Regions from separate parts of the Homo sapiens genome. Here regions 2, 3 and 4 are each linked to region 1. Evidence: promoter capture Hi-C in 16 types of primary human blood cells and fetal thymus (Javierre and others, 2016). All regions are on one chromosome and are shown on one strand. The core of a region is centred on a gene start or on the middle of the fragment in contact, and the rest is flanking DNA. Distances in the headings are between cores, read along the strand shown.

Region 1 (4,421 bases), core at 491-2,990:
TATCTGTTCCCCATTAACCTTTCAATTATTTTATTTACGGTAAAAGATTCTATCATTCTTTCTACATTTATTTATTTATTTATTTATTTTTGAGACAAGGTCTTGCTCTGTCACCCAGCCTGGAGTGCAGTGGCGCCATCTCAGCTCACTGAAACCTCCCCTTTCCTAGTTCAAGCGATTCTCGTGCCTCAACCTCCCGAGTAGCTGGGATTACAGGCATGTGCCACCACGCCCAGCTAATTTTTGTATTTTTAGCAGAGATGGGGTTTCATCATGTTGGCCAGGCTGGTCTCAAACTGCTGACCTCAAACTCCTGGTCTCAAGCAATCCGCCCACCTTGGCTTCCCAAATTGCTGGGATTACAGGCATGAGCCACCACACCTGGCCTCTTTCTACCTTCATTATTGGCACGCATTTTCTGTAAAAAGCTTTCCCTCACCAACTGAAGAGGATCTAAAAGGCAAGGTAAATGCACATTCATTCCCATAATAACCTATTTTTCAAAGTAAGGAATCAGTGTATTAATTACCTCCAATGTTTGCAAATGAATTCCCCCCCCCCCACGTCTTTCTCTATTTTAAGTGTCAAGGTGATCATGTGGAATTTTACTTATTCAAGGTGTTACCATCAGTTTGGATACTTAAGCTTTCCCAAATCTGTCGAGTGAGAGACCCTTAAACCTGGCCTCTTTTGACACATATCCATAGTCTTTAAGCTCTTCCTTGCTTTCTAGCACAAGTTACTCCAGGCTCACCTGGTACTTCCCCTGCTGCTTCTCTTTCTGACCTAGCCACCAAGTTCCTGTGTGACCCTGGGCAGGCCTCCCATTTGATTTACATTTCCCCACTGTTAGAATAAGAAAAATCAGGTTAAGTCCATCCTGCCCCACATGGCCATGGGAAAGATGAAAATAAATAATATACATAACCATGACACTGAAATACTGGTCCTAGGCTGAAAAGACCACCACTACTTAGGAAAACCCCAGACTAGGAGCCACAATCAACAACTCCGGAAACCCTCCACCCACTCGTCTCCCTAAGAGATGCTTCCACTCAAGTGACTCATTCCTTCTCACACTAGAGGGGACTGCTTTTCCTCCCTCCCACCCATCAGTTTATTCTTACCTTCTGCTTTAAACATCTTAGTCACATCCTCCCACAGGGCCACCCGCTCCGTGGCCGCCTTTGGATGACGCAACTTCACCCAGGTGCTGGCCTCGGTGGGCAGGGTGATCAGGAGCTGCTGCAGCATGACGGCGTCCGCACTCCTTTCTGAGGACCCTCTGTCTTAGCCCATAGGGCTTGTCCACCTCTGATGAGGAAATTGCTGGAAGCTCTGACAGGAGGCTTCCCAATTGTACCGATCTCCTTAATCGCCGACTCCTACTCCTCAATGTCCTCTCTCAGGAACCCAGGGAACATACAGTATCAAAATCCGAGATCTGGACTTGTGTCTATCATCGGCTCTCAGGGCGTATCTCCCAACTTGAGCTCCATCTGTCTCCTTGGCCAGCAGCTGGAGGCGCCAAGTATTTACTCTCAGCAGCCCCTGCAGATGCTGAGCAGAAGACATTAGAATCAGCAAAGGACTAAGGAGGCTCAGTCATAGGGCAGAACGCTAGAACATATATGGATCACTGTAAAATGTTTCCAAAAGATACACGGAGACGGTGGGCAGACACAGCCCACAAAATTCAAAGCACCGCGCACATGTCAGGAAGCACAAAGAGACGAATACAACCCAATTCTTTGTTTGGGGCAGTAATTATGTGTAAAGTAGCCGGGGATTTGGAATCCCAGCTCTTTCACTAGTCGGCTGTAGCAAACCGCGAAACCGCTAGACCCCGCCTCCTCCTCCCCAAATGAGAGGCTAAGTCCTCCCCACAAAGCAAAACGCCCCCGGCCCTAGCCTCCCAGCCTTTGTCTGAGCACGACTCCGGGGCTGCGGAGAGCACCGCGCGCGACAGGGTGGCCGCGGGCGGAACTCGCGCTTCCCGGCTCGCCCAGCTCCCCAAGCCCGGGACAGCCACCCGCTCACCCTCTCCCCGCTGGGCCGGCACGCCCCCGCCTTCCCACCGCTGCAGCCGGGTTCCGGCACTGCGCGGCCAAGCTCCCACGTAGCGCTGCGGCGGGCAGTCGGGGCCCAGTGCGCCTGCGCAGCGGCTGGCTAGAGCATGGTTCCCAGCGTCCTCCCGGGGAGCCGCTCCGCCAGCGCAGACGCCCCCACCGGTGCGCGCCGGGTTGGCTGCGTTCAGGGGCTCCCAGTATCCGATCCCTGCGAGCATCATCAGCCTGGCTCCTGCGGGAGGAGATGGAGCCTGCGTTCTTGGGCCCCAGACTCTGATGAAGAACAACCATCTTTCCTCCGCTGGGAAAATGCACGTGAACGTTAGGGTGAGCCTTTGAAACCCGTGACAAAAGGGAGCCATCGGCATCACGTTTTTTGGTGAAACGACACTGGTGTAAAATAATCCATAGCACTTTCCCTAAATATTATGTACATGCCAGTTATTTATTCTCAGCAGACAGTTGAATGGATTCCGGTATATTGTTAAAAGAATACCACAACAGTTTTCTCTTCTAGTATTCAATAAAAGTTCTCATGTTTATTGCTTACCTTGTATTTCTGAAATGCCAGAAAATACACAAAAACAAAAAAATTATTGCCTGTAATTTCAGCAAGCAGCGGTAACCTTGCTAACAGTTGGTGTACAACCTTTCCTGCACACACACAACGTATTTCATGCATTGTTATATATTTTCCACAAAAGCGATTATACTGTAATGCTGTTTTATTGCTGAGTTTTCTCCCTCCAACAAAATTTGAGTACATCACTCCAAATACATTTCTACATCAACAGTTTACAAAAACAACAAATGAGGAAATAGAATACAATTATAGTACTTGCTAGCTGTTATGAACCGAATGTTTGGATTCCCCAAAATTTATCTTGAAGCCCTAACCTCCATTGTATTTGGAGAGTATTTAGAGATAAGGCCTTTATGGAAGTAATTAAGGTTAGAATATAGTCCTAGTCAGAAACGAACCCAACTCGACCTTACTTGGGGCTTCTAGTCTCCACACTGAGAAAATAAATTTCCGGTTTTTTGTTTGTTTGTTTGTTTGTTTTTTTGAGATGGAGTCTCGCACTGTCCGCAGGGCTGGACTGCAGTGGCGTGACCTCGGTTCACTGCAACCTTCGCCTCCTGGCTTAAAGCGATTCTCCTGCCTCAGCCTCCCAAGTGGCTAGGATTACAGGCGCCCGCCACGACGCCCAGCTAATTTTTTGTATTTTTAGTACAGACGGGGTTCCACTATGTTGGCCAGGCTGGTCTCAAACTCCTGACCTCGGTGTCTGCCCGCCTCGGCCTCCCAAAGTGCTGGGATTACAGGCATGAGCCACTGCGCCCGGCCAGATATCCGTGGTTTAAGCCACCCAGTCAATGGTATTTTGTTACAGCAGCCCAAGCTGATGAATACACTAGCATATAATAGTTACAGAATATGAGGCTCTGTCCTAAGTGCCTTTCATATTTTAACTTATTTTGTCATCACAGAAACCACTGGAAGTAAGTACTATTATTATTCCCACTTTACAGATAAGAAAACTGAGATTTAGAGAAGTTGAATAACTTGCCAAGATCATGTGGCTTACAAGTGGTGAACACAGGCAGTCTATGTTCCTATCTGCTACTCAACAAAAATACAGCATGAAATACAATAAAATGTTAATGGTAGAATCTAAGTAGTGGTATAGGGATGCCGTAATGTAAAATTCTTTCAATTTTTCTGTATATGTATATGTTTTCATAATAAAATATCAGAAAAATACAGCTAAGAATAAACAAGAATTATGCAGGAAATTATAAATAAAACTCCAAATTTTTTGTTTAAATGGTGAGAATAGTGATACAACACATTCACGAGTTGAAATAGAACATTCTAAGTATGTCACTCTTCCTCCAGTTCACATAAACTGTGATGCATCCCAATCAAAATTTCAACTTTTTCGGCCGGACATGGTGGCTCACACCTGTAATCCCAGCACTTTAGGAGGCCAAGGCGGGTGGATCACCTGAGCTCAGGAGTTCGAGACCAGCGTGGTCAACATGGCGAAACCTCATCTCTACTAAAAATACAAAAATTAGTTGGGTGTGGTGGTGTGTGTCTGTAATCCCAGCTACTCAGGAGGCTGAGGCAAAAGAATCGCTTGAACCCAAGAGGTGGAGGTTGTAGGGAGCCAAGATCATGCCACTGCATTCCAGCCTGGGTGACAGAGCAAGACTCCATCTCAAAAAAAAAAAGAAAATCAACTTTTCTTTTTACTAAACTAAATGATTCTAAAGTTTAGCTAGTATGGCAAGTGTTCCAGAATGGCCAATAATGTTTTCCAACAATAATGAAGGCAGACTTGCCCT
Region 2 (4,421 bases), core at 736-3,235, 250 kb after region 1:
TCCCAGCACTTTGGGAGGCTGAGGTGGACGGATCATTTGACCCTGGGAGTTCGAGACCAGCCTGGGCAACATGGCAAGACCCTGTCTCTCCAAAAAAATAAAAAATAAATAAAAAATAAATTAATCGGGAATGGTGGCATGTTTCTGTGGTCCTAGCTACTCCAGGGGCTGAGGTGGGAAGATCACCTGAGCCCAGGATTTTGAGGCTGCAGTGAGCAGTGTGCGCCACCACACTCTAGCCTGGAGTAAAATTAGCTGGCAGATTTTTCTCCATGTAAATTTGGCCCCATGAGTGCAGGTAAACACATAGAGTAGGTGAAGATTTAGGGATAATCAGGATACTGGTAGTCAAACAAGTACAATTAAGAGAGAGACCAGTGGCCGGGAGCAGTGGCTCACGCCTGTAATCCCAGCACTTTGGGAGGCCGAGGCGTGTGGATCATGAGGTCAGGAGTTCAAGACCAGCCTGGCCAAGATGGTGAAACCCCATCTCTACAAAAATACAAAAAAATTAGCCAGGCGTGGTGGTGGGCGACTGTAATCCCAGCTACTCGGGAGGCTGAGGCAGGAGAATTGCTTGAACCCAGGAGCAAAGATCGCGCCACTACACTCTAGCCTGGGCAACAGAGCGAGACTCTGTCAAAAAAAAAAAAAAAAAAGAGAGAGGACCTCTCGCTCTTTGAGAGTGATAATGATGATCTGACAATGACAAAGCAGAGTTAAATAGGGAAGTGAATACATAAGGGGGATAAGGGAAAATGAAAAGGTGACAAGATCAATAGATCTTGATTGATCCTGGTGGAGACTGTATATTAAAGGGAGTAAGGTAGAAAGATAGACAATTGTATTTGGAGAGTAAGATATTACAAGTAAAAGTTTCAGAATTACTACAGCATAAAACCAGATCCTTGGGACTACTACATCTAATAAAAAATTTCAGTTCAGAGTAAGAATCCATATGTCAGAATTGAATGGCAGATAAGAGGATTAAAGGTAGATGATGAAATAAAGCTTAAGAATCTCTAGTTTTTTTCTGTATAATGTCAAAAACCATTAGAGAAGTCTAACTCCAAATTTAAGAAACATAATAATTGAGGTTTTTTTTTTTTAAAGGATGCAATCTGATACATAAAATAGTTGTTGTTTTTTTGAGATGGAGTCTCACTCTTGTCACCCAGGCTGGAGTGCAGTGGCACGATCTCGATGCACTGCAACCTCCACCTCCCGGGTTCAAGCGATTTTCCTGCCTCAGCCTCCTGAGTACCTGGGATTACAGGCGCCCACCACCATGCCTGGCTAATGTTTGTACTTTTAGTAGTACAAGCTGAAGCAGGTGGATCAGTTGAAGTCAGGAGTTCAAGACCAGCTTGGCCAACATGGTGAAACCCCGTCTCTACTAAAAAGTACAAAAAGTAGCCAGGCATGGTGGCGCATGCCTTTAGTCCCAGCTACTTGGGAGGCTGAGGCACAAGAATCACTTGAACCCGGGAGGCAGAGGCTGCAGTGAGCCGAAATTGCACCACTGCACTCCTGCCTGGGTGACAGAGCAAGACCTTGTCTCAAAAAAAAAAAAAAAAAAAAAAAGACTCAACCCTTATTTTCCATGATATCCAGTTTGGCCACTTAATTGTTCAGGATGTAGTCATGGAATCTAGAGTCCTATACTTTTCTGCTTACAAAATTAAATATATAAAGTAACTTAAGCTAAAATTAAGTGCCATTTTCTTTAGTTTATCCCTTGATGCCATGATTAACAACTTCTGCATTCCCCAAACATGGAGACGTCATTACTTTAAAAAGAAAAAACAACTTTCACATTTAAAGATTTCACAGCAAATCATCACCCAAATAAGTAAACATGCCTCTGTATATTCTTTAGTTATCTACTTTTCAAATTCACTCTAAAATATTACATTCTATCTGTCGAGCAGTTAAATATACAATTAAAATCATACATTTTGGTAGCCTGAAAAAAATGAATCTTGGTTTTCATTCTAAAGGGAAAAAATAAACCATGCAATATATATATAAATCTATTAAATTAATACCAAGTTTGAATGACAACAATTATTTACTCACCTCCTTAATAGCATCTTCATTAGGGAGCATAGAACATAAACATGTGATATAGGCTTGCTGAAAAGATGACACATTTGAAATTTCTTTAGATTCTGCACATAGTTTTGATAAAGCAGTAGCCTGGGGGATGCAGTTAGATTTCAACAAATGTTTTATTCGCATTTGCAGAAAGGAAGGTCCTTCTTGTGCAATCAATTTATTGACTAGAAAAAATGAAAAATAAAACAGTTTGACAACATACCACATAACATGTCAGACTTGCTAAGATGAAAGTTTGAGATCTTTTTATTTGATTTTTAGTTAATAAAAATTTAGTTTATATAAATGAGAAGTTTACTCTGGTCTCAATATTCATCTAATAGAGATGAGAGGAAAATTAAGAAATAGTGAAATGAACTATAAGCATAAATGCAAGAAATGAAGCAAGTAACCTATGTAATATTAACAACTATCAACTGAATGCTTACGAGACATCAAGTTTTAAGCTGCATATTTTTATATACCTCTCATTTATTCTTCACACCACCACCAAGGCAAGTATTATTATCCCCAGTCTAAGGTTAGGAAAATTAATATTCACAGAAGTTAGGTAACTTGCCAAGGATTCCAAAGCCAGTGGTGCTCTTTCCTCTAAACCAGGCATTTCTCAAAGTGTGTTCCACCGACCAAAAGACCTGAGAGATAGTCCTAGAAAAAAAAAGGATTCCTTGGTCAAATCTCTGAACAGTCCTGCAATAAAGAAAACTGTTCACTTTTATTTAAAAACCCAATGTTTCCTAAACTGATTTGACCAGAGAACCCTTTTATACATATTAGTAACCTGTAAAACATGTGTTCCTGGTTCAGTACACACTTTGGAAAATGCTACTCTGAAAGCTTCAGAAGTACTGAAGCTCAGTACTTCTGAGCTGTACTGAATATTAGGCACTTGGCATTGACTGTACAGTGCTCTGGATGAGCCCTCAAATTTTTTTTTTTTTTTTTTTTTTGAGATGAAGTCTTGCTCTGTCACCCAGGCTGGAGTGCCGTGGCGCGATCTTGGCTCACTGCAAGCTCCGCCTCCCGGGTTCACGCCATTCTCCTGCCTCAGCCTCCCGAGTAGCTGGGACTACAGGTGCCCGCCACCATGCCCGGCTAATTTATTGTATTTTTAGTAGAGACGGGGTTTCACCGTTGTTAGCCAGGATGGTCTCGATCTCCTGACCTCATGATCCACCCGCCTTGGCCTCCCAAAGTGCTGGGATTACAGGCATGAGCCACCGCACCCGGCCGAGCCCTCAATTTTTGAATAGTAAATATCCAACAAGTATGTGACATCACTACATAGTATTACTTAAAGAATAGAGGTGAGAATATTGCATGTCAAGCCAAGTGGTGAGTAAACAAACTGCTTTAGGTGGTTAATCTAAAACAGTATCTCTCAGACTTGAAAGTGCCTAGATCACCTAGGGAGCTTATTAAAATGCAGATTCTGATTTATTAGGTCTGGGACCTGAAATTTTGCTTTTCTCACAAGCTCCCAGGTTGCGGGGGGGGGGGGGGGGGTGTGTGTGTGTGTGAGGTGTGGGGGGGGTGTGTGTGTTTGTGTGTGTAGAGTAGCAATGGTTTATACTAAGGATAAACCACTGGGGTGTGTGTGTGTAGAGTAGCAATGGTTTATACTAAGGATAAACCAGTGTGTGTGTGTGTGTGTGTGTGTGTGTGTGTGTGTGTGTGTGTGTGTGTGTGTGTGTGTGTGTGTGTGTGTAGAGTAGCAATGGTTTATACTAAGGATAAACCACTGGCCCAATTTTAACTACATATGAGAATCAATCGTAACATTATCCTTTAAAATAATATAAAGAAAAACATATATATATATATAATCACAGATTTCAAAAGGACAGAAAAAGCTATACAGTTAAAGTTTTTCTCCCTCCTACCCTGACCCCAGTGCTCTGGTTTCCCACCCTGAGAAACAACAAGTTTCCAATTTCTTGTTTATCCTTCCAGAAATATTCTATGAGTATGGAAGACATTTTCTTTTGCCACTTAATATATGATACAGGTTATTCTATCATCTGTGCAGTTAGAGCTATCTTCTTATTTTTAACAACTGAATAGCATTATGTGGTATGGATGTGCTATAATTTATTTAACCAATCCCCTACTGATACACTTGCAGGCTGTTTCCAATCTCTGTCAATCATCAATAATGCTGCAACTTACAACCCTATATACAGGTAATCTGAAACATGTGAATAAATCTACACAACAAATTCCTAGATGCGGAATTGCTAAATTAAAGGCTCTGTTCATTTGTAATACTGACTCATACTGCCAAACTGCTCTCCAAAAATTGT
Region 3 (4,421 bases), core at 1,412-3,911, 220 kb after region 1:
TCAGAAGAGCCAATAGGTTTTTTGTCTCTTTTCTCCTTATGCTGATCTGTCAAATCTCTTCTTCTATATTGTTTATCTTCTTTACCCTCATCATAGTCACTGAGAAATGACTCTAAAACATCTGTGTCATTAATGGACATTTCATAGCCACTTAAATCATCATCAGAATCTGAGGCTTCTTGTCCTAAAAGTTGGTGGCAGTGTCGTTTTAAAGTTTTCCAGTCCCAAAACTCAGGATCAAAAGGCCAGTGGGCTTTTAAAGCTAGTAAGAGCTCACATCGAAGAGAATTTGGAACCGGTGCATTTTCTTCATCAAATTTTTGATCTGGTTGCAAATATAGTTCTTCTAACATATTAAATCCATCCAAACTGGGTTCAATTAAGAATTCTGTAAGCTGACAGGCTCGTCTAACTTCTAAATCTTCTGGTAAAAGACAGGCAATTGTTTTACAAACTGATGCCTTCATTTCCTCATCTTCACTTGATCTGAGTTGAAGAGCTCTGACACACAGTAAAATTGACACCCCAAGACCAGCATCTTGTGCCTGTAAGTAAAAGAGGATAAAAAAATTATTTTTTTGCATACAGAAAGATTATATAACTTTCACTGATAAGGAATTTTAGCTTGTAAAAACTTTTAGAGTTCCTAAATTTTATCTTAAATCTTTCTTCATGAAAGTTACATTTAGATATTTCTTGTCTCAACATGCAAAGAACTAAATTAGATGCTACAACTACGAACAATGTACATTTACTAGGCACTGTGTATTAAAGCAGTTCCTTACTTCCAAGGAATTTATCTGTACCCCGAATGCATAAACAATAAATGCATGTGAATCCAAAGAAATTCAGGATAAAAAAGGTCACTGGAGGATTCAAAATAGAATGATGTTGAGTAGAGGGGCAGGGTTTAAAATGGCAGCAACAGGAAACACAGGTATAGATGTGAGTCTAAGATTAAATTCAATTTAAGAAATTCTCTTTGGCTGGGCACGGTGGCTCACGCCTGTAATCCCAGCACTTTGGGAGGCCGAGGCAGGTGTATCACCTGAGTTTGAGACCAGCCTGACCAACACGGAGAAACCCCGTCTCTACTAAAAATACAAAATTAGCCAGGTGTGGTGGTGCATGCCTGTAATCCCAGCTACTCGGAGGCTGAGGCAGCAGAATCGCTTGAACCCAGGAGGTGGAGGTTGCAGTTTAGCCAAGATCACACCATTGCACTCCAGCCTGGGCAACAAGAGCAAAACTCCGTCTCAAAAAAAAAAAAAAAAAAAAAAATTCTCTCTATCATGAACACTTGGATTTTTCAAAACTTCAAAGATAAAATAAATGATCCTTTCCATTTCCTCCTGAAAGAATCTGGTAATTTATAGTCACCGTCACAGGTGTACTGAATCTCAGCTTTCCAGGGAAAAAACAGAAATCAGAAATCTTGCTATGGCAGCAGGTTCTCAGAAACTAGTTTAAAATTAGGAAGACCTGGTCATATGTGATAAAAGCTTGGTACATACAAGATAACTCTTTTTATCTGAGAGGCTGAAATAAAATACAAAAATGACATGAGCAAAGAAAAGCAAGATATGTCAGAGTGGCTTAAAACGCACTGCTATGAGCAGAGACTTTAGAATCAGACTTTGACTGCCTTTGAACCCCAGCTTCACAACAAGTGACAAGTTCTCAACCTCTAAACTTCAGTTTCCTTATTGGTAAAATGATAACAGTAATGTTAATAACAGATTTTCCTCCTAAGGTTATAAAGATGAAATAATAACGCTGGCACATTGTAACTATTTAACAGAATACAATGTAAAATAATGGAGTAAATTCCACTGTTTAAATCAGTAAACAATTTGCCAGGCATTTAATTCTGTGTTGGGCATCATTCATTCTAAATGCTGGGAACACAAAGAAATCACTGTCATTGATTTACAGAACCCCTACTACAGCCTAGGCACTTATTTGAAATAAACTTTTTTGCACGTATTATCCTCATTTTATAGACAAAAAACCCCCAACACTCAGAACGTTAAGTTGCCCAATGTCACTAACTAGTGAGCAGAGGAGCAAGGACTTAAAAGCATTTAGGCCGGGCACAGTGGCTCACACCTGTAATCCCAGCACTTTGGGAGGCCGAGGCAGGCACATCACTTGAGGCATGGAGTTTAAGACCAGCAGGGCCAACATGGCAAAACCCCATTTCTAATAAAAATACAAAAAATTAGCCAGGCATGGTGATGCAGGCCCAAAGCCCCAGCTACTTGGGAGGCTGAGGCATCAGAATCCCTTGAACCTGGGAAGCGGAGGTTGCAGTGAGCTGAGATCACGCCACTGCATGCCAGCCTGGGCAACAGAGTGAGACTCCGTCTCAAAAAAAAGAAGATATTTGGCCTGAAGAGTAGAAGAGATGTGGACTGGTAGGTGAAAAGGGAGTGAGTGAGTGTAGAATCCCTTGCAAACTGAGACTCCAACTTTTTTTTCTTTAAAACTAGTCAAGTGTAATAGTGAGAAGGGGGAAAGAGTAGAACAGAGTTCAGTCTGTAACTGACTGTGAACAATCAATTGAGATAACTCCCTACCTTTCAGACGAGCTGAGACTCTAGCTTTTTTGAAAGAGAGGCATTACCTAGCCTGTATCAGCTAGGATCTGGTTCTGTTGTGAGTGGCAGACTTCCCACAACAGTAGTGGCCTAAAGAATATAGAAGTTTCTCCCTCTCATTTGGAATGTAGTCCAAGTAAAACAGGCCATGTTGCTTTAGTGGCTCCACAGGACTAGACCATGGGTCTCTTGACTTATTAGGATGATGTGATAGAAGTTTATCATTTGTAAGTAAGAGCAGAGAGGACTTGGGGAAAGTCAGCTAAATTTTAAAATAATTCAGTTTCTCAACAAGTTACTAACTCCTTTTGGAAGACTGTGAGGTGGACAGCAAAGAATGGCCATTCTTTCTTAAACAGCCTAATCTGGCTGGGATGGTAACATTTGAAAAATCACTAACAACATTTTTCAAAGAAAAGTAACCAGAAATACTATTATATATTCTGAACAGATATGCCAAAAAGTTACTGAAAGGAGTAGTGAATAAATGTGAATCAGGATATGCAATGTGGAGCTGAATTTTGAAGAAATTGGTGGGTCTTAAACTAGGAAGGTGAGGGATCAAGAGTGACTTGGCATACTGTTGCAAGCGCACATAGGATATAGCCAAGTCATTCAATCTTTGCTTTTTTTTTTTTTTTTGAGACAGAGTCTCACTCTGTCGCCCAGGCTGGAGTGCAATGGTGTGATCTCGGCTCACTGCCACCTCTGCCTCCCAAGTTCAAGCAGGTGGGGCAGCTTACACCTATAATCCCAGCACTTTGGAAGGCTGAGGTGGGAGAATTGCTTGAGGCCAGGAGTTCAGAACCAGTCTGGGCAACAAAGCAAGACCCTGTATCTACCACTGCTCCCCGCCAAAAAAGAAAAAGCCAGGTATAGTGGCACACGCCTGCAATCTCAGCTACTCTGGAGGCTGAGACGGGAGGATTGCTTGAGCCAAGGAGTTTGAAGCTGTAATGAGCTATGATCGCACCACTGCACTACAGCCTGGGTGACAGAGCGAGACCTGTCTCAACCAAAAACTGAAAACTAAAGTCAGAGATGGAGGATGTCAGGTTTCAAGCACCAACTTGTTGCACCCTTGCTGCTTGAAAACAGAGGTAAAGACTGAGTGTAGCTTCTAGCACCTGAGAACAGACCCTGATTGGCAGCCAGCCAGAAAACAGAAACCTTAGTCCTACAACCACAGGAACTGAAACCTGTCGATAAGAATAAGCTTTGAAGTGGATTTTCCACAGAGCCTCTGATAGAACTTAGCCTGGCAAACTACATTTTAGCCAATATGATAATCTTAGAAGAGAATCCTGCCACATTGTGCTGGATTTCTGATTTACAAAACTGAACTGATAAAAACGGACATTGTTTTAAGTATTAATTTTTGTGATGTTATTCAACAATAGAAAATTAGTACCTTTATTAAAGATTTAAACAAAACAAAATGTTCTAATGGCCAATTATAAAGTAATTGTTTAAACAGGCAAGTTCTATAGTTACCTTGAAATGTTCTTTTTTTTTTTTTTAAAAAAAAAAAGACCAAGTCTCACTCTGTCACCTAGGCTGGAGTGCAGCAGTGCAATCTTGGCTCACCACAACCTCCGCCTTCCCTGTTCAAGCGATTCTCCTGCCTCAGCCTCCAAAGTAGCTGGGATTACAGGCGCCCGCCACCATGCCCGGCTAATTTTTGTATTTTTAGTAGAGACGGGGTTTCACCAGGTTGGCCAGGCTGGTCTCGAACTCCTGAGCTCAAGTAATCCACCCGCCTTGGCCTCCCAAAGTGCTGGGATTACAGGCTTGAGCCACCGTGCCTGGCCTCTTAAAATG
Region 4 (4,421 bases), core at 675-3,174, 170 kb after region 1:
AAATCCAAGCTGAAGGCCAGGCATGGTGACTCAAGCCTGTAATGCCAGCACTCTGGGAGGCTGAGGCAGGTGGATCACGAGGTCAGGAGTTTGAGACCAGCCTGGCCAACATGGTGAAACCCCGTCTCTACTAAAGATACCAAAAAAAAAAAAAAAAAAAAAATTAGCTGGGCATGCTGGTGCACACCTGTAATCCCAGCTACTCAGGAGGCTGAGGCAGGAGAATTGCTTGAACCCGGGAGGAGGTTGCAATGAGCTGAGATCGCGCCACTGCACTCCAGCCTGGGCGAGAGGGCAAGACTACATCTCAAAAAAAAAAAAAAAAAGAAAGAAAGTTCAATACAATAAAGGATTGGAAGATGATGAGGGAATTCTAGAAAGCAGAAAGAGATATATTTAAAATGGAAAAGAGGGTTAAAAAGATAGGAGAGTTCAGTATAACAAATCCAGCACTCGAGTAAGAGGAGCCCTGAAAACACAGAATTTAAAAAATGGAGAGGAGAAAAATCAACAAAATAATTTCAGAAAATTTCTTACAACCATAGGACCTCGATTTCCAGAATAAAAGGGCCTAATGCATATATTACAGTGGATGAAAACAGTGTGATGCATATAACATGGTAGATGAAAACAGATCCCCATCAAGGTATGTGAAATTTTAGAACACTGAAACAGAGAAAGATCTAACAAACTTCCAGAAAAGCAAACAAAAACAAAAACAAAAAAAGTAACAAAAGGATCAGCAATTTTTTTTTTTTTTTAAGACAGGGTCTCACTTTGTCACCCAGGCTGGAGTGCAGAGGCAGGATCTCAGTTCACTGTAACCTCCACCTCCCAGGTTCAAGCAACTCTTGTGCCTCAGCCTCCTGAGTACTGGGATTACAGGCGTGCGCTATCATGCCCAACTAATTTTTGTATTTTTTTGTAGAGACAGGGGTTTCGTCATGTTGGCCAGGCTGGTCTCGAACTCCTGGCCTCAAGTTATCTGCCTGTCTTGGCCTTCCAAAGTGCTGGGATTACAGGTATGGGCCACAGTGCCTGACCATAAGCAGATTAACTTTCTAAACTTGCATGATTCTCTAGTGTTATCACTGGGTTATTCTTTCTGGACTTCAGTTTTCCTATTTATAAGATGACTTTAAGATGTCTTCTAATCCCTTCACAGAATTTTATTTCATCTACGTATTTATAACAGGCTAGGTACTTTACTAGAACCTGTTTTTAGTGTCAAAACAGATGCTCAGATGCTAATCATTTTCTGGTACTCTCTACATTTGGGTAGAGAGTACAAGGTATTTCACACATATTATTTCATTTAATCTTCAAAACCCTAAAATGTAGGTATCTTTAGCCTAGTATTTCTCAACCAGGGGAGACTCGGCCCCACCGCTACCTTTAGGGGACATCTGGCAATATTCTGAGACATTTTTGTTGTTACAATTTGTAGAGGTTGTAGGGGAAATGGCCCCTAGTGGGGAGAGACCAGGGATGCTGCTAAACATCCTGTGATGCACAAGATACCTCCCACAACAAAAAAATTATCTGGCTCAAAAAAATAGCGTGGGGCTTGAGAAACCCTACTGGCCTCATCTTTCAGTTAAGAAATCAAAGATTTAGAAAGCTTGGCGGGGTGCGGTGGCACACGCCTATAATCCCAGCACTTTGGGAGGCCAAGGCAGGCGGGTAACTTGAGGCCAGCAGTTCGACCAGCCTGGAAAACATAACAAGACCTCATCTCAAAATAAATAAATACATAAATAAATGAAAGCTTAACTTACTTGCACAGAGTTACACAGACAGTGAGTGAACAGGCATCTAAAATCATCTCTGTATGACACCAAAGGCAATGGCACATTCCATCACACATACAAATACTGATGATCATTTCTGACAGTTTGTATTGTTTCTTATCATTGTCCCCTCTCCCCCATTTAGTCTTGATACTTTAAATTCTGCTAATCAATATCAGTCAATCTTATCCACGAAAAGGATTCAGAAGCAGCTTTCTCAGACTCTCATGTCAGATTTGAGAAATGTCTTTTCTTGTGCTCCAGTTACTATATCTAGAATCTAAAGCTTGACAGTAGCAATTCACGTATTGTACTGTGATTGCATGACTATTTCCCCTTTAGACTGTAAGCTTAAGAGGAAGGTATTCCTTTTTATTTTTGTGTACCTAGTGCCAAGTAAAGTCTCTCAGCACAGAGTATACATTTCATAAATGGGTGTTAAACAAATAAAACAGACTAAATTACACAACGTATCCAAGGATACAAAGCTACTAAATGACAGAACCAGGATTCAAATCCAAGTCTCTCCATTGCCAAAGCCTACAATTACTGTCTTAATAAAGCTAAAAATTAGATGTTTATCTTCTCTTTATCTTGCTTGTGGGAATTCTTTGATCATAAACACATAAGAAATTATATATATATATACACACACATATATATATATACACACAAGTTCCTGTTTTAAAGATAGCTTATAATCATATGAATTTTCTTATAAGAGCTTCCAATTTTAATATCCACATTCTATAAAAGCTTGCAAGGTAGTTAGCATGTAATAATAGTGGTGATCTCTCCTAAATACCAGAACTATAAAGGAGCCATGGTTTTCATCTGATAGTCTCCCTGAATTCAACACTCACTGCCTAGAAATTGATGTTATTTTGAGTTGTCACAGGAACTGTGTATAAAAACTAAGGTAGAATCTCTTAGGAAAAAATAACTCACTTTAACTTTAGCTTTTATTTCTTCACTGTTCCCTTCTTCCTCATTGCGGGGTTCCATGCCAGAATCCTCCTGGATGTCTTTGTTTAGTACAGAGTACTCTTCTAGTAGAGTGTCAAACAAAACTATTCGCTTGTTCTTGAAGAAGCCATAAAAATAAGCATTGCTGTGGGAAGAGCGTTTAGATCCTAAGGAAAAGACAGTTCAAAGCATGGAATATAATTAAAAAGTTTGGGGTCCTTTGGAGAGACTCCTAGAAATTGAATTACTGGAAAGGACATTAACATTTTCAAATCATTTAATATGTGAAGAAAAATCATATCAACATAATTCACCACCAGCAGTGGAGAGTGTCTGTTTTTTGCCAATAAATGTGCTCATCACAGCTTTATAGCAGTAAGTAAATAAGTAAAGCCTAAACATCCAACAGTTACAAATGATTCAATTATAGTAAAACTATGAAATGGAATTTTAAGCTGCCAGAAAAAAATTATACTTCCAAAGAATTTTAACAAGAAAAAGCTCACCAATATATTGTGAAGGATACAAAACTTCACGTATATCAGGTTCCATTATCGTCAAGAAAAAATGTGCATGTATTAGGTTGGTGCAAAAGTAATTGCGGTTTTTGCATTGTTGAAATTTGCTGTTTGATATTGGAATACATTCTTAAATAAATATGGTTATGTTATACATCATTTTAATGCACATTTCTCACTTTATGTTTTTTGCTAATGACATTACTTGCTGTTTATTTTATATTTATTTTAGATAAGGGAAATTATATTAGACAAAAAGCAAATTCAACTGGGTGCAGTGGCTCATGCCTGTAATCCCAGCACTTTGGGAGGCTGAGGCAGGCGGATCACTTGAAGTCAGGAGTTCGTGACCAGCCTGGCCAACATGGTGAAACCCTGTCTCTACCAAAAATACAAAAAATTAGCCGGGCATGGTGGCGCACACCTGTCATCCCAGCTACACGTGGGGCTGAGGCATGAGAACTGCTTGAACCCAGGAGACGGAGGTTGCAGTGAGCAGAGATGTCGCCACTGCACTCCAGCCTAGGCAACAGACGGAGACTCTGTCTCACAAAGAAAGAAAAAAAAAAAAGCAAATTCAAGCAATTTTCTTCTTTGAGTTCAAAATGGGTCGTAAAGCAGCAGAGACAACTCGCAACATCAACAACGCATTTGGCCCAGGAACTGCTAACGAACGTACAGCGCAGTGGTGGTTCAAGAAGTTTGCAAAGGAGATGAGAGCCTTGAAGATGAGGAGCGTAGTGGCAGGCCATCGGAAGTTGACAATGACCAATGGAGAGCAATCATCGGAGCTGATCCCCTTACAACTACACAAGAAGTTGCCGAAGAACTCAATGTCGACCATTCTACGGTCGTTTGGCATTTGAAGCAAACTGGAAAGGTGAAAAAGCCTGATAAGTGGGTGCTTCATGAGCTAAGCGAAAATAAAAATTAAAAAAAATCATTGTTTTGAAGTGTCGTCTTCTCTTATTTTACACAACAAACCATTTCTCTATCAGACTGTGACGTGAGACGAAACATGGATTTTATAGAACAACGGGCGATGACCAGCTCAGTGGGTGGACACAGAAGAAGCTCCAAAGCACTTCCCAAAGCCAAACTTGCACCAAAAAAAGGTCATGGTCACTGTTTGGTGGTCTGCTGCCAG

The links. Contacts are between HindIII fragments. The CHiCAGO score rates a contact against its expected background, and 5 or more counts as called.
Region 2: a fragment that was not itself captured here is called in contact with the fragment with the promoter of ZFP69B in region 1 in 1 of 17 cell types (total B cells); the score reaches 6.2 in total B cells.
Region 3: a fragment that was not itself captured here is called in contact with the fragment with the promoter of ZFP69B in region 1 in 2 of 17 cell types (neutrophils and naive B cells); the score reaches 5.4 in neutrophils.
Region 4: a fragment that was not itself captured here is called in contact with the fragment with the promoter of ZFP69B in region 1 in 10 of 17 cell types (naive B cells, total B cells, total CD4 T cells and 7 more); the score reaches 7.5 in naive B cells.

The regions. Positions count from the first base shown.
Region 1 is chr1:40,447,795-40,452,215 of GRCh38, reverse strand. It overlaps ZFP69B (ZFP69 zinc finger protein B), which reads right to left and starts at 1,740. Exons shown (of 5, transcript NM_023070.3): 1 at 1,128-1,740. The coding sequence starts at 1,254. ZFP69B-DT (ZFP69B divergent transcript) reads left to right here and starts at 2,177. Exons shown (of 5, transcript NR_198977.1): 1 at 2,177-2,396. RefSeq lists an enhancer at 447-1,646 and a silencer at 1,862-2,121. The HindIII fragment of the contact is 15,908 bases long and covers 648-4,421 here.
Region 2 is chr1:40,200,273-40,204,693 of GRCh38, reverse strand. RLF (RLF zinc finger) reads right to left here. Exons shown (of 8, transcript NM_012421.4): 5 at 2,080-2,282. Among named protein-coding and RNA genes, the nearest start is that of RLF, 41 kb to the right of the region's middle. The HindIII fragment of the contact is 1,944 bases long and covers 1,014-2,957 here.
Region 3 is chr1:40,231,916-40,236,336 of GRCh38, reverse strand. RLF (RLF zinc finger) reads right to left here. Exons shown (of 8, transcript NM_012421.4): 8 at 1-545. Among named protein-coding and RNA genes, the nearest start is that of TMCO2, 14 kb to the left of the region's middle. The HindIII fragment of the contact is 2,314 bases long and covers 1,505-3,818 here.
Region 4 is chr1:40,279,845-40,284,265 of GRCh38, reverse strand. It overlaps ZMPSTE24 (zinc metallopeptidase STE24), which reads right to left. Exons shown (of 10, transcript NM_005857.5): 7 at 2,739-2,923. Among named protein-coding and RNA genes, the nearest start is that of ZMPSTE24, 24 kb to the right of the region's middle. The HindIII fragment of the contact is 308 bases long and covers 1,771-2,078 here.